Linked DNA regions of Homo sapiens: region 2 is linked to region 1. Evidence: promoter capture Hi-C in human tissues and cell types (Jung and others, 2019). All regions are on one chromosome and are shown on one strand. Each heading gives the region's core, a stretch centred on a gene start or on the middle of the fragment in contact. The rest is flanking DNA. Distances are from core to core; before and after follow the strand shown.

Region 1 (5,534 bases), core at 2,068-4,567:
AGTGCAGTGAATGGAAATATGCCAAGAGTATGATGGGATTGCAGATCAGGATGCTTAGCCGTGCCTGGGCAGGCAGAATCGTTGGGGGTGGCCACACAGCTGGCTGTATTGCTTTCTAGCTGTGCGCCCTGAGGCAAGTAGTCTCCATTCCAAGCTTATAGTTCCGGGAATCTCAGACTCTGAGTTGGGAGGGTGATAAGAACTCCAAAATTTCAAATGATGATTGCAGAGAAGGTGCTAGATTGCTAAAGACTGAATCGGACCCTCCTAACTGACAATGAGAGAGGGCGGTGGAAAGGTCTCCGATTTTTCACAGGGAGGGAGGCAAAAGCATTGAATCCTCATACCAATCAGTCAATGATCAACACATACCTAGCAAGGCTGGCTCTCGGTCAGGCACTGTTGCAGAGGAAGTGGCAGTGGGTCTTCAGCCACAGGCAGTCTGCCCACTCCCAGAGTGCGAAGGCTGGAGGGGCAGACTGTGCGGGGAGTCTTTTTGGAACAGAGCTTTCATTAGTCACAGTTCTGCAGGCGTTTTATGCTTTCAAACAGCCTTTCTCACCTATCATCTGATCCTTGTAAACTCCCTCATGCATCAGACAGGGCAAGTGTTATTATCCCTACTTTTCAATGGAGAAACCAGGCCCAGGGAAGCTGAGGATTTGGCTAATGTCCCATAGCTTTTCAGTGGCAGGGGTAAAGCTAGAACTGTAGGCTTCTCATAGCCTGAGTGAAAGCACAGGGTGCTGTGCTACCCCAGGGCAGTTTCAGTGAGCTCTTAATGGAGGCTGGGCTGTGACCCTGAGCCTTCCTGTTCTCCCCGCATGTCTGGGAGTCATTGGACTGCAAGGGGGGGCACCAGGAGTGGTAGGTGTCCTGGGTGGAGAAGCTGTGCCAGGTTAAGGAATGCCGCTCCAGAAGCAGAATCTGAATTCCAAAAGGCTTTGGAACAAGAATGAGGGAAGGCCGTCAGGGTAGGAGAGAATATTTTGGTAGAACAGACTCAAAGCCTCAAATAACAAAGAGAAGGGATAAACAGAAGCACTTCAGAGGAAGAGGAGAGCACTGTTCCGGATCACGAAGAGGCTCTGGGAACACCCAGGATGGAGGAGCATGCAGGCCTCCTGCTGGCTCTGTGGCCCTGTGGACCCGTGGCTCCCTTTCTCTCTTTGGCCCTCAAATTGTCAATGGAGGGGGCCGCAGCCCATGGTCTCTGAGGCATGCTTCTGACTGGCCTCTGGGCTCCTGACCCAGGTCCCCCTGAAACCAGAATGACCCCTGGATCTTCCCTACAGAGAGAGCGCCTGCAGATGGCGGGGAAAAGGGGCCAAGGCCCAGCGTGGAGAGAAGGAGGACTTTGCCTTTGGAGGAGCATATGCGGAGCAGCTACCCAGCACCAGGCCCCTGCCCTCCCCAGACATCGCTTACTTTAACGGACCACCACAACTCCATGAAGCAAACCTCCCATTTAGAGTGAGGACCCTGAGGCACCACAGTCATTCAGGTCACCCCTGGGGAGCATCTTGTCACTGCCCGCAGCCCCCTTCAATCTGGACCTGGTGCCTCCCTCAAAAAGGGAGGAGTGTGGGAGAGAGACCACAGGGGCCAGCACCACACAGTTTCAAGCGGAAAGCCCTTCCTGCTGTTTCCTGGCTGGGGGTCTATTACCTCCCTCTGCCGTGGTCTCCTTACTGTTAGGAGGCCTGCTGCCTGCAACAGTGGCCCACATGCTTAAATTAATGCACTGGTCACAGGGTGCCCATTGCGGCCCCAGTAGGATGGAGGAGGCTCCCCTCAATCCTACTGTCTTGTCATTGTGGTAGAAGAATCTGAGCTCAGGACTTACTTCTCTGCCACTGTCCTAGACCCCATTTGGTCTTGGGACCCACAGGTCGTCCAGGAAGCAGGTCTGTGTGTGCTCGGATCCACGTGGCTCTGACCCTCCCAGCACAGAGAGCCTGAGGGTCCCAGTGTGCACCACCACAGGTCAAGCAGTGCCCACCCTTGACCCTCAGATGGCAGACCACTCCCCCATCTCTGGCCAGAGCTGCAGGCCATACCAGAGGCCTACGCCCTGGGCGGGCACACAGGGCTGCCATTGTCTGCTCAGCGCCTGGCACCCTCTCGTTTGCATAGCCACGTGAAGAATGCAAGAGCGGGCTGGGGACTTGTCCCTTCAGAGGGGGGTTGGGGCTGTGGGGGAGGAAGCCAGCAGGGGTCTGCAGCAGGACCCTGCCTTCCCCCAGTGCAGTCCAGGAAGGGTGGGTGGGCTGTTGGGGACGGAGGGGGCGGCGGGGGGCTGGCAGGAGTGGAAGCAGGGTTGTGACATTCCTTCTGCACCCACGCTGCAGTGGGGCCCACTTGAACGTGAGGGGATTGCTAATGAGGTGGAAGAGAGTTAAACATTCCCCTACTCCTGAAGACCAAGAGAGACTGGGAGAGAGAAGAGGGAGGTGGGGGTGCTCGGAGCGGGCAGCCTGAACCCCGGGAATGTGCAGAGGCCACTGCTCCGCGCCAGGCTGCTCTAGAGTTGGGGGCCAGGGCCCAGTGTTCCAGTCCCAGCAGGAGCTACTAAGCCAGCCAGCAAGGGGATTAAGGGGCTGAGCAATCCGCCTTCCTTCAGGCTGATGCCAGAAGGTTGGGGCTGTCTCCCCAGCTCCCCACCAGGCCCCTTGCTGGCCGGCAGCCAGCGCTGGCCCAGCCTCGATAGGGCCCCTTTTCTGTCCCCCTCAGATCTCAAAAAGACCCCACAGTACATATTTCCTGGTCTGGCCTCCCTGATTTTTGGCACACACAGCTCCCAGGTACCCATGACCCCTCTTCCCAACACCCCACCGCTAGCTCAGCCTCCCCACATCCAGCTTCAGAGCCCCTGCCAAAAAGTTATCCTTGACATCTAACTCTAGTTTTACCCGCTGCAAACTGGCATTCCTTTCCCTTCTGTCCTAAAGTCAAAGGGCAGAAAACCCCAAGGGTTAGATCAGCCTTGCAAGAGCAAAGTCCATCCTCCCAGGGCTGGTGTTTGGGTTAGGGATTATCCGAATTTTAGGACACCCGAATCAGGTTCCTAAAGGGGTTTCCCTGTGGGGAAAGGCCCAGAGGGCAGCTGGGTCATTCCTCTCAGCCCCTCCCTTCCCTATCCCTGCGGAACGGGGCGGGGCAGGGACACCACCTGGGCCATGGGCCGGCCCTCCGCCCCCAGGGGGCTGGGCATGAGCTTTGCTGGGGACCCTGCTCTGGCTTAGGCGGCTGCTGTGGGCGGGCCCTGGCCTTTTCCAGCCCCTGGGCCTCCCCCTGCATTCTGGAGTCCAGAGCCACTGCCTTTGCTCCAGCCGCTGCCGCCGCACCACCTCTCCTTCTCTGCCTCTGACCCTCCTTCTCGCTGCTCCCCCTGCCCAGCTGCTCCTCCCACCTGGCCATGACCAAAGCCCCTGCTGGCACCCTGGCCCAGCTCTGAGTCCTGGGACCCTCGGTCCTCTCTCCTGGGCCATGGCCAACTCAGGCCTCCAGCTCCTGGGCTACTTCTTGGCCCTGGGTGGCTGGGTGGGCATCATTGCTAGCACAGCCCTGCCACAGTGGAAGCAGTCTTCCTACGCAGGCGACGCCATCATCACTGCCGTGGGCCTCTATGAAGGGCTCTGGATGTCCTGCGCCTCCCAGAGCACTGGGCAAGTGCAGTGCAAGCTCTACGACTCGCTGCTCGCCCTGGACGGTAGGCCCCAGGCCGGCGGGGTGGGAGATGGGAGGTGGGAACAGCAGGGGAGTCTGGAGCAAGTTTTCCTCACAGTCTGCTATCTGCGCTGGGCTCCAACCTCCAGCCTCCGCTCTACAATTCCCCCACTACTGCCCTGTGCCCATTGACGGTCCAGGCCAGCCTGCTGCCCTGTGGGAGGGGAGGGCTCTAGGGTCTGGCGGCTGTGGGTCCAGATTCCTGCTCTGTCACTATAACTTTGAACTAGTCACCAAACCTCTTCCCATTGTGATGTTCTCATCTCTAAAGGGGAATACTAATACCTGTGGCACTCTGAAAGACTCAGTTAAGACCCTTCATCCACTTCTCCCCACAGTCAGTAGACAGACACACACTGTATGATGCACACCTGCTCCCTAGTCCTGCTCCCAGGCCTGTGTGCCAGCATATGGGTGCATGCACATGCATGCAAACACGCATGCACACGCACACACGTGCACATGCATGCACAGACAGGTGTGTCTGCATGCAGTCCCTCTCCTTCTGGGGTGTGGAGATGAGCCTGACAGGCACCGCCGAAGTTCTAACTCTGGGGTGGAGGTGATCCACCTGCAATCTGCCCAGGAGCCCCCAGGGACAATCTGCTCCCCATGGGAGCTGGGAGCAGAGCGGCCTTCAACCAGCCCCATTGTGCCAGTTCAGGCAGGTCAGTTCAGGCAGGTCATCTAGCCTCGCTGAGGGACCCAGGTCTCCTGAGCACCCCCCAGGGCCCAGGATGGACCCATGCACCCGTGAAGAGGCAAGCTTCCAGCTGCCATGGGCAGAGGGGAAAGTGACTGTTGTCTGAATGGCTGCTGGGGAGGGGTTGCTGCGGGGCTCAGGCTGAGTTGAGCTGGGCCTCAGATACCCCCAGCTCTTCCACCTACCAAACCTGAGGGGACCCTGGAGCTGCCCTCAGCTGCTTGGGAGGATGGGCCAAGCCCAAGAGGGAGTCCCCAGGCCAGAAAGCAACAGCAGAGTGAATCATACTACCGGAAAAGCCTGCAAGGGCGAGTGGAGAATGGCGTTGACAGTGAAGGGGACTCTCACCCCCACACCCTGTCCTCATGCCCGGGCTGTCACTCCTCACTATCCTGCACCTGCCAGAAGGTGGTCTGACCCCCCAGGCCAGCTCCTGCTCAAGCCCCTCTCAAGCTGGGCTCCTTCCACCGACCCCAGGCACCGACCCAACCCCCATCCCCGCCAGCCCGACTCAGTGTCATCCCGCCCACCCTAGGTCACATCCAATCAGCGCGGGCCCTGATGGTGGTGGCCGTGCTCCTGGGCTTCGTGGCCATGGTCCTCAGCGTAGTTGGCATGAAGTGTACGCGGGTGGGAGACAGCAACCCCATTGCCAAGGGCCGTGTTGCCATCGCCGGGGGAGCCCTCTTCATCCTGGCAGGTGAGTGCCCCTCACTCCTGCACAATCACAACCATGGCAGGCAGCCCCAGCCCCAGTGGCCTCGGGGGGCCAGAGCAGAGCTGAGCGCCCCTCTGCTTTGTCTTTAGGCCTCTGCACTTTGACTGCTGTCTCGTGGTATGCCACCCTGGTGACCCAGGAGTTCTTCAACCCAAGCACACCTGTCAATGCCAGGTGGGTGCCAGGGCTTGGGTCTTTTGCTTTACCTCCTCTGGGGCCACTGACCTTTGTCCACTGGATCACCTGGCGGGGGAAGTGGGGACAGGATCCAGCTGCTGTCCAAGAAGCTTTAAAGGGGGGCGCCAGGAGGAGTGTGGTGGGGCCCTCCATAGGGGCGGGAGGCCTGTGATGGGCACCCAGGTGCAGCAAGGACTCTCTAAGGAC
Region 2 (5,534 bases), core at 1,798-4,297, 200 kb after region 1:
ATGATCAAGCCAAATAAAATATACCCTCTCTGAATAATTAATGTGATATAGGATTTTCCCAATTTACCAGAGTTCCTCTGTCTCTTCCTTTCGGCTTTGAATTTCTGTTTCCAAAATTGGTTCATTAGATTCAGGATCTTTACAGGTATTTTCACTTGTAATTAAATTAGAAGGTGCAGTTTTTCCCCCTAGAGTAAAATGATTTAATTGTGCAAATTCTTGTGAAAGCTTCAAGACCTGCAAAATTAAGTGAAAGACAAATATTCTATTTTGCATACTTTTATTTATAGCTGTGAAAAAAAGTATACTGATTTCATTAAATGCTTAACTATTGGCTTATATAATATAAAATGACATCCTAATTGAAGGCTGATTCCAACTTAATTTAATACTTTGCAGTTGTTATATTACTTAATCGATTTTTTTTTTACCATAGGCATAAGGGTATGTAAATTCCCTTTTTTTTTTTTTTTTTTTTTTTTTTAAAGGTATTTTTGGACTCTGGGGTTGGGTTCTCAGAGTGCTGTTTAGCATTTGGTTATACCTTTTAACAAGCACAAATATGTGATCTACAGAGTTTTACATGATCACCACACATTTTTGTTTTCAAGTTTTGAATGTACTTCATTGATTCATAAAAGCAATAATATATAATAAAAACAAAAATATATTGCTGCCAGAAAACATTAGAAAGAATATTAGATATATCTTACGGAGATATCTTCTATATCTATAAGAATATTAGATATATCTTACAGAGAAGAACTTTCTTCCATAGTGGTTCTCAAACCACTATGATATAAAAGCATCAGCTGAAGAATTTATTAAAAGCGCAGTCTTGGCCGGGTGCAATGGCTCACATCTGTAATCCCAGCACTTTGGGAGGCCAAGGCAGGCAGATTGCTTGAGTCCAGGAGTTCAAGACCAGCCTGGGCAACATGGAAAGATCCTGTCTCTATGAAAAATTAGCTGGGCATGGTGGTGTGCACCTGTAGGCCCAGCTACTCAGCAGGCTGAGATGGAAAAATGGCTTGAGCCTGGGAGGTGGAGATTGCAATGAGCCGAGATCAGGCCACCGCACTCCAGCCTATATGACAGAGTGAGACCCTGTCTCAAAAATAAAAATAAAAAATAAAATATTTGTTAAAGAAAATGCAATCTTATATTGTAGCCCCTACCCTGAGTAAGACTCACTATCAGTGGTCTGGGGGCGGAAATGGAAATCTGTACTTTAAATAAGCCTCCCATGTAATTCTGTAAGTAGATGCTTTGAGAATCACTGCCTTTTGTGATTTGGCAAACCATTTGCTCAGTCTTTTTGTTTTGTTTTGACAAACAGATTCTAAAGATTTCCTTTCCTGAAAGGTTACTCTATATCTTCATATAAAATGAAAAAACATTTCCTTCAGGGAGTAGAAAGGATGGGTGGGGAATGATTCTAAGAAAGGAAGATGGGCTAGGCGCAGTGGCTCATGCCTGTAATCCTAGCACTTTGGGAGGCTGAGGTGGGAGGACTGCTTGAGGCCAGGAGTTTGAGTCCAGCCTAAGCAACATAGCAAGACCCCGTGTCTGTACCCAAATAAACAAACAAATAGAATGGAATAAAAAATAAGAAAGGAAAATGGATCCCCATCAAAGTATTGTGCTAAGGTAGACAATAGCCTGCCTGATTCATATCCTGAGCCTGTCTGAAAATGCAAAGCTTCTACATGTTTGATTCTAAGAACACAATGGACTTAATTATAAAGATCAATTTAAGTTTACTTTAAGAGATCCCTTTGGTTTCCTATGCCTTTTCAATTCTCTGAAGAGAAACTACAGTGTGTAAAATGGACTATAATCTCATAAAATCCATAAAATCTCATATGGACTATAACCTTTCTAGGGGAGAAGGTTGGTCTTGAACTAGTCCTTTCAAGTTGGGAAGATATAGATAAGAGAAGAGACTACAAATAGCACATTTTAAGCATGGGGAGCAATATGGCCAAAGGCACTGACATAGAACTGAGTATAGAGTAATTTGGGGGAAAGTAAGGAGGATGATTTCATTGGAATAGAGGCTACAAAGTAAGGAGCTGCAGAAATAAGGCAAGATTGCCGGAGTTTGAGACCAGCCTGGCCAACATGGTGAATCCCCATCTCTACTAAAAATAGAAAAATTAGCCAGGTGTGGTGGTACATGCTGCAACCCCAGTTACTCGGATGGCTGAGGCATGAAAATCACTTGAACCTGTGAGGTGGAGATTGCAATGAGCCAAGATCGTGCCACAGCACTCCAGCGTGAGTGAGAAAGACAACTGAGTGAGAAAGAAAGAAAAGAAAGCAAGGTAGGAAGGAAGGGAGGGAGGGAAGGAGGGGAAAAAAAAAAAAAGAAGGCCAGTTGTGGTGGCTCACACCTGTAATCCCAGCACTTTGGGAGGCTGAGGTGGGCAGATCATGAGGTCAGGAGTTCAAGACCAGCCTGGCCAACATAGTGAAATCCCGTCTCTACTAAAAATACAAAAAATTAGCTGGGCGTGGTGGCAGGTGCCTGTAGTCCCAGCTACTCAGAAGGAATAAGGCAAGATTGAAGGGAGAGGTCAGATTATAAAGGAACGTAAAAGACAATTTTATTAATGAGCTTGCATTATTTTTGTAAGCAGGAAAAAATATTCCAAAATGCTACTTAATCACTAATCTTTGTGGTCATTGTAAAAATGTAAACATTACAGATAATAAATGTTAGTCACTTAAGTAGTAAAGAAAGGCAGCCTGGCAAAATAGGGAGACCCTGTCTTTATTAAAGAAAAATTTAGGCCGGGCGCGGTGGCTCACGCCTGTAATCCCAGCACTTTGGGAGGCCGAGGCGGGTGGATCATGAGGTCAGGAGATCGAGACCATCCTGGCTAACAAGGTGAAACCCCGTCTCTACTAAAAATACAAAAAAAAATTAGCCGGGCGCGGTGGCGGGCGCCTGTAGTCCCAGCTACTCGGGAGGCTGAGGCAGGAGAATGGCGTGAACCCGGGAAGCGGAGCTTGCAGTGAGCCGAGATTGCGCCACTGCAGTCCGCAGTCCGGCCTGGGCGACAGAGCGAGACTCCGTCTCAAAAAAAAAAAAAAAAAAAAAAGAAAAATTTAAAATTAGCCAGGTGTGGTGCCATGTGCCTGTGGTCTCAGCTCCTTGGGAGGCTGAGGCAGGACAATCACCTGAGGCCAGGAGGGGGAGGTGAGCTATGATCTTGCCGCTGCATTCCAATCTGGGTGATAGAGAGACCTCATCTCAGAAAAAAAAAGGATAAAACAGTGGAGTTTAGATTTGACGTTATAGCAAACTGAAAGCTGCTGAGGGTTTCTGCAAAGGATGGTGACACTAACACAAAGCATTTTCTAGGTATTCTGAATTCTCACATGACAAAGTAGTGTATATCTTAAGTGAGTAGAAGCTTTATTCTTTATAACAAAGAAAGTTAAAGCCATCAGACCCTCCATGACATGGCTATTGTGGAACAGGACCAACTCTGTTCCACAGACTTCTTCCTACCAAAATTGTATCTTAGTGATATAGCTCAGTTTAATAATCAGCCATGTTTAAGTAGCATAAGAATTAAGCTTATGGTTCCACTTTCTGATTGAGGCCTTAGGCTAGGGTAGAAAGAGCATAGGCTGAGAATCACCATGTAACTTGGCAGCAGTCTAATATCCCTGGGCCTTGGTGTTCTTATGTGTAAACTGAAGGAGTTGGTCTACATGATCATACTCATTTCAGCTCTAAAATTCTGTATGAGTCTAGATGTTGTAACCCAAACAAAAATGACAGCCTGTAAAATGTGGGCTTCAGCAAATACATACAGCTTCTTTAGCAAGACTATCTTTAAGTCTAAAGCACTCTATATTCTGAAGAAAAACTAGAATATAACTTAAAAATCAAAGATTCAAAACAGAAACTTTTAATGAGTAAAAGTTTGATGGGAAACATAACACATAGTCTCAAAGTATCTCCCCACAAGATATGTATCTATTGCAAAGGCAAAAGTAATAACTTTGTAGTGTAGAAATCTAGCAGACAGTACCTTAACCAAATGATCCAAGTTAATATCATGAGGAATAGAACAAAAATGTCATGTCTCCTGATAAAATACACTGAGAAGGATACAACATTATCTCTGTAGTGTGGGTAATCTGAATTACATCGTGAGAAAACATCAGACAAATCCAAATTAAGAGACATTCTTCAAAATCAATGGTCTTGTTATGCACTGCATGTTTGTGTTGACTCAAAGTTCATATGTTGAAAGCCTTACCCTCAATGGGATGGTATTAGGAGGACACATTGGCAAGTAACTAATGCACAAGGGTGCAGCCCTCATGATTGTAGTAGTGCCCTTTTGAGAAGAGACAGGAAAAAGCTTGCACTCTCTCTCTCTCTTTGCTGTTGGCCATGTGAAGATACAATGAGAAGATAGCTGTCTGCAAATCAGGAAGAATGCCCTCACCAGACACTGAATATGCCAGATATGCCAACATCTTGATCTTTGATTTCCCAGCCTCTAGAACTGAGAGAAATAAATATTTGTTGTTTAATCTACCCAGTCTATTGTATTATGTTATAGCAGCCCAAACTGACTGAGACAGTACTCTTCGAAAATATCAAAATCATAAAAGACAAAGACAGACTGAGGAACTTTTGCAGATTGAAGGAGCTATAGAGACATGACAATTAAATGCAATGTATGATCCTGGGTTGGATCTCAGACTAGGAAAAAAGTTATTCTCTTGCTATAGAGGGGAATCAGAATAAAATCTGAATACGAGCTATAGATTAGATAATGGTATTGTGTCAATGTCAATTTCCTGATTTTGAGACTTGTACTGTGGTAATAGGAGATGTTATTGTTTTTAGTAAACCCACATGGAAATATTTAAGGGTAAAGGAGATTATGTCTCCAACTTACTCTCAAAGAGTTTATAAAAAACTGTGTGTGTGTGTGTGTATGTGTATGTGTGTGTGTGTGTGTGTAGAGGGAAAGAGAGACAATGATAAGGTAAACACGATACCATGTTAACATTTGGAAGAGTGAAAGTATATGGGAAGTCTTTGTACTTTCATAATTTTTTCTGTGAGTCTGATATTATTTCAACATAAAAAGTTTAAGAAAAAAGGAGACCCAGATTACCAGAAGAGCAGATCTGGATCTCTTTATTTTATATTATATTCTTCTCATTTCAGCTCATCTGTTGTTAACTTTTTCAATGATATTTTAAAAGGCCTGGCCCTTTAACTGTACAACGTGATGATAACTTACCTTGCTGACAAGGTCCCACAAAAAAGGCTTAGTTGTATATTATGCTCTACATAGCTACTCTCCCAGGCAGCAAACCCTATGTTCTGGACCTTTCCCTCCCATGTCACATGCTATCTGATCTATGTCCCAATCCCTCAGCAACCTGCTCCTGATTTTCTGGGATAACTACACATAGGTTAAATTAGGCTTTGATTTAGTTACTCACCTTACATATGGTGTTAAAATATAGCCTAATATATTTTAACTGCTGTA

Evidence for each region. Contacts are between HindIII fragments. The study calls those that stand out against the background at their distance.
Region 2: a contact is called between a fragment that was not itself captured here and the fragment with the promoter of CLDN19 in region 1, in 4 of the 25 tissues and cell types used here (IMR-90 fibroblasts, bladder, dorsolateral prefrontal cortex and 1 more).

What each region holds. Positions count from the first base shown.
Region 1 is chr1:42,738,019-42,743,552 of GRCh38, reverse strand. It overlaps CLDN19 (claudin 19), which reads left to right and starts at 3,317. Exons shown (of 5, transcript NM_148960.3): 1 at 3,317-3,712; 2 at 4,968-5,132; 3 at 5,240-5,324. The coding sequence starts at 3,490. RefSeq lists an enhancer at 1,358-1,960. The HindIII fragment of the contact is 9,679 bases long and covers 1-4,966 here.
Region 2 is chr1:42,540,113-42,545,646 of GRCh38, reverse strand. CCDC30 (coiled-coil domain containing 30) reads right to left here. Exons shown (of 21, transcript NM_001395517.1): 9 at 68-237. Among named protein-coding and RNA genes, the nearest start is that of CCDC30, 80 kb to the right of the region's middle. The HindIII fragment of the contact is 4,163 bases long and covers 966-5,128 here.